Regions from separate parts of the Homo sapiens genome. Here region 2 is linked to region 1. The links are contacts of gene promoters, found by promoter capture Hi-C in blood cells and fetal thymus (Javierre and others, 2016). All regions are on one chromosome and are shown on one strand. The core of a region is centred on a gene start or on the middle of the fragment in contact, and the rest is flanking DNA. Distances in the headings are between cores, read along the strand shown. Region 1 holds the start of TAAR8 (trace amine associated receptor 8). Region 2 has its middle 11 kb from the start of TCF21.

What was found. The method cuts DNA at HindIII sites, captures the fragments that hold promoters and counts their contacts. A CHiCAGO score of 5 or more calls a contact.
Region 2: a fragment that was not itself captured here is called in contact with the fragment with the promoter of TAAR8 in region 1 in 1 of 17 cell types (total CD4 T cells); the score reaches 6.1 in total CD4 T cells.

What each region holds. Positions count from the first base shown.
Region 1 is chr6:132,551,398-132,553,964 of GRCh38, forward strand. It overlaps TAAR8 (trace amine associated receptor 8), which reads left to right and starts at 1,275. Exons shown (of 1, transcript NM_053278.3): 1 at 1,275-2,359. The coding sequence starts at 1,296. The coding sequence ends at 2,324. The HindIII fragment of the contact is 7,110 bases long and covers 889-2,567 here.
Region 2 is chr6:133,898,923-133,901,489 of GRCh38, forward strand. No RefSeq gene overlaps it. Among named protein-coding and RNA genes, the nearest start is that of TCF21, 11 kb to the left of the region's middle. The HindIII fragment of the contact is 1,036 bases long and covers 751-1,786 here.

The DNA.
Region 1 (2,567 bases), core at 25-2,524:
CATCCTCTTTTCATCCCTGCAGAGGACTGGATGCATCACAGGGAGAGTTGCAGCCAGGCACATCCTCCACAGTCTCAGGGCTAGGCATAGACTGTTGCCTCCATCTCCCGCTGGCAGCGTCACAGCACGTTTGATGAGCTCCTCAGCAGGGCCAAGCCCCTCATGAACCCCAATCCAGGTATCAAGTGCTTTCTGCTGTGCAGGTTGTAATCCCTTGGGGGTCATTGGTCTGCCTTTTGTTGAGGTAGCAGGCCTGTGAGAAGGGCAAATCCCTGGCTCAGCTTCTCACCCCCATCCTGACTATGGCATATTACTTCAGCAGCTGGTAGGAGGGGGAATCTGGCAGTGGGTGGACCATGTGCAAGCTGAGTTGCAAGGCAGGGAATGCAGACACCTGTGAGAGTCCTCACTTGCCCTGCAAATACCTCTTTGTCCAAGGGCATTCCATAGCAAATATCGAACACTATGACAGGCCAAGAAAGACCATAAAAGAAAGGTAAAAGCTTTCTATTTCAGTACCTTTAATGACACTTTTTGTCCATACTTTTGAACAAGGGTCTCTGCATTTTATTTTGTGCTGGATGCTGCAAATTATATAGATAGTCTTGTAAATAAGGAATAGGTAATACTATTGTCAAATCTTGGGTTAGGCTATTTCAGGACAGTTGAACTTAAAGAAATCTCATGGTTATGAAAATCATAAGTGTTTCTACCAAGTTGCAGAGCACAGAGAAACAGTTCTCCTATTGTAGGTGAACTTATTAATTATAATTATCAAAAGTGGGATTCATTTCATGATTCACACCTTACACTATGGGGATTCCTTGTGAAGAATTTATAATGGGTACAATGGATTGGCTGGCTTCCTAAAATGTCCTAGGAGATGGAAGCTTATTAAAAGGTGACTTCTCAAATATGTAATTATATTATACATGATCGTCCTTTGAAAAGAAGGATTCACATGTATATAAAACCAGGTATTTAAATTACATTTCTTCAATTACTTGGTTAATGTGATTACTCAGCTGATGAAAATTCATAGTAGATTTGCTTGGGGTTAATGACGAGGTTTAGACATAGCGACAGAAATAATTATGAGATTAAAGACAGAATTATCTTTTATGTTTTTGAATTTAATTTCTCTTTATAATTAAAATTGAAAAAGAATATAATATGAAACAAAATTTGTAAGTACTCACATATGCAGTTTGTTTTTGTTTTAATTTTCAGAATTCAAAATTATAATTCCCTATCACAAGGAAGGACAGAAATAGCAAACAACAAACAGCAGAACCATGACCAGCAATTTTTCCCAACCTGTTGTGCAGCTTTGCTATGAGGATGTGAATGGATCTTGTATTGAAACTCCCTATTCTCCTGGGTCCCGGGTAATTCTGTACACGGCGTTTAGCTTTGGGTCTTTGCTGGCTGTATTTGGAAATCTCTTAGTAATGACTTCTGTTCTTCATTTTAAGCAGCTGCACTCTCCAACCAATTTTCTCATTGCCTCTCTGGCCTGTGCTGACTTCTTGGTAGGTGTGACTGTGATGCTTTTCAGCATGGTCAGGACGGTGGAGAGCTGCTGGTATTTTGGAGCCAAATTTTGTACTCTTCACAGTTGCTGTGATGTGGCATTTTGTTACTCTTCTGTCCTCCACTTGTGCTTCATCTGCATCGACAGGTACATTGTGGTTACTGATCCCCTGGTCTATGCTACCAAGTTCACCGTGTCTGTGTCGGGAATTTGCATCAGCGTGTCCTGGATTCTGCCTCTCACGTACAGCGGTGCTGTGTTCTACACAGGTGTCAATGATGATGGGCTGGAGGAATTAGTAAGTGCTCTCAACTGCGTAGGTGGCTGTCAAATTATTGTAAGTCAAGGCTGGGTGTTGATAGATTTTCTGTTATTCTTCATACCTACCCTTGTTATGATAATTCTTTACAGTAAGATTTTTCTTATAGCTAAACAACAAGCTATAAAAATTGAAACTACTAGTAGCAAAGTAGAATCATCCTCAGAGAGTTATAAAATCAGAGTGGCCAAGAGAGAGAGGAAAGCAGCTAAAACCCTGGGGGTCACGGTACTAGCATTTGTTATTTCATGGTTACCGTATACAGTTGATATATTAATTGATGCCTTTATGGGCTTCCTGACCCCTGCCTATATCTATGAAATTTGCTGTTGGAGTGCTTATTATAACTCAGCCATGAATCCTTTGATTTATGCTCTATTTTATCCTTGGTTTAGGAAAGCCATAAAACTTATTTTAAGTGGAGATGTTTTAAAGGCTAGTTCATCAACCATTAGTTTATTTTTAGAATAAGTTTAAGCACTAAGTTGAGAAAATTAAGAATATTTTTAAAATTATGAATTTATAAGGAAATTAAATATAAGAAACAAATAAAACTTTTCAAAATTGGAGAAATATATCACTTTTCAAATTAACCAGGAAAAAGGTCACAGGAAGATTAAACTATTAAACTATTGTAAAGATATTGACTACATTAAATAATAAATGATAAAGTGGTTCACACATGTCACTTGTCTCTATGTTTTGTACACATCC
Region 2 (2,567 bases), core at 19-2,518, 1.3 Mb after region 1:
TGTGGGGAAGGAGCAGAGATAACAACAAAACAAATTCATATAACCTAAATGATCTACTTTATGGACTAGAACAATCTTATTGAGGAAATCACTAGCACTTTTTAGCCAGTAAAATGTTATTGTAAGGCACATTTAAGAAATAACAGCACAGACTAAGATTTCTTAATTTTTTTCATCCATTTGCATTCATGAAGCACATTTATAGAGGCTATCATATTTCATCTTCAAAACAACCCTGACCCAGAGGTATTATTATCCTCACTTTTTTTTATAGGGCAACTGAAACTCAGAGATGGAAAATAAATTGCCAAGAGCTATATAGTGAAAAAGTGGCAGAAAGCTGAGTATAGAATTCTTTTATTTTGTTGAAACTACCTTGAATGTAGGAGGGTCCCAGAATAAAAGAAATTTTAAAAACTGTAGCCATACAAAGGAAAGAAATACTTCCAATAAAAGCATGACATTAAGCCTTTTTAAAATTAGAATTTGTATTTTATACTTACTTAAGGATCTCTTTTAGACTTATTTATAACTTTATTTTAATCCTATATTGCCATTAAGGATACATAAAAGGAAATTATAAGCAAAATAAACTAGTTAAAATATTCCAAAAATTATTTTATATTCAGAGCCTAATTCATTCTGAATCATTTAGTCAATCCCAGTCATGAAAGTCTTGTGACTTTTTATTATGTAACAGTTTTTGTCATAAAAGAAACCATCCTGAAACCCAGTGGCTTAAAAGCAATAAGCTTTAGTTGTTACTCAGGAATCTGAGTTAGTTAAGAGGCTCTGCTGATCTGAGCTGAGCTCTACTGTTCTTGCTGGGGCTTGCCCATACATTTTTGGCTGGCTGTCTATTTGGCTAGGAGCTAGCTGGTCAAGAACAGCCTCACTCACATGCCTGGTGGCTGGCCAGTTATTGGCTAGGGTATGAGGAAAACCAAACCATGCATTTTTTTTTTTTTTTTTTTTAGACAGGGTCTGCCTCTGTCACCCAGGCTGGAGTGTAGTGACACAATCTTGGCCCACTGCAACCTCCACCTCCTGTGCTCAAGCAATCCTCCCACCTCAGCCTCCCAAGTAGCTGGGACTACAGGTGCATACCACCACACCCAGCTTTTTTTCTTTTTTAGTAGAGACAGGGTTTCACCATGTTGCCCAGGCTGGTCTCGAACTCCCGACCTCAAGCAACTCACCTAGCTTGGCCTCCCAAAGTGCTGGGATTACAGGTGTGAGCCACTGGGTCCAGCTAAACCATGCATCTCTAATCATCCCATAGGCTAGTTTGTTCTTGTAGCAACTAGGGAGGGAACAGAAAGTCATAAGGCCTGTTGGACCTAGGTTTACAACAGGTATAGTGCCACTTCTGCTGTGTTCTATTGGCTAAAGCCAGTCACAAGGGCATCCCAGATTCAAGAGATAGGGAAATAAATTTTACCTCTCAATGGGAGAAACTACAAATGCACTTTGCTTAGAACATGTAGACTGTGTACGTGTGGAAATTTAGAACTATTTTTATAATTAATCTACCACACAAAAGTTTTTTTAAAAAAATTCTTTGGCCCTTCTGAATAATTTTCCACTTTGAAAGGTCAATATCTAGTGATTTACCACCCAATTTTATCTTCTGGTTTATTAAGAACATTTCTTAGAAGAGTTCTCTGTTATCTCTGTAATTTTCTTCCAAGCAACTGATACCCATTCTATAGTTTTAATATTGACTCTTTCTTGATATTTTTGGCAGGGAGCATAATGAAAATAGCAACATAAATTAGTCACACCAAGCTTTCTTTTACTTATTCTTACAAATTTGGAGGTTTCCCTAACCCTAGTTGCATTGTTTGGCCTGTGTAGTGGGCTAAATGGTGGCCTCAAAGAAATCAGATTCTAATTCCTGGAAACCGTAAATATTACCTTAATTGGAAGAAGGGTCTTTGCAGATATGATTAACGATTTTGAGATGGAGAGATTATCCTTGGTTGTTTGGGTAGGCCCTAAATGCCATCACAAGTGTCCTTATAAGAGAAAGGGAGAGGGGGATTTGATGCACAGAAGAGAAAATGGTGATGTGAAGACAGAAGTAGAGATTTAAATGATGCAGCCACAAACAAAGGAAGAGTAGCAGCCACCAGAAACCAGAAGAGGCAAGGAAGAGATTGTCCCCTAAAGCCTCCAAGGGAACATGGCTCCGCCTACACCTTGATTTCAACCCAACAAAACTGTCATTGAACTTCCAGCCTCCAGAACTAAGAGAAGAGTAAATTATTGTCAGCTGAAGGCACCAAGTTTGTGGAAATTTATTAAGGCAGCCACAGGAAACTAATACAGCCTGTGTTAGGCAATCCTTTGCATGTATCTCAGTAACCAAATATCACAGGATCATCTACTTATTGTTTACTTTTTTTCTTATGCCCCAAAAAGCACTTTGATGTTAATTTGTAAGAAAATATGGAATTATGGATATTCTTCCAATGGCAAATGCCTTTGTTACTACACATTGATTCTCTATTTCCATTACTTTCTATGCATAAAATAACATTTTTTCAATATGGAATCAGAGCATA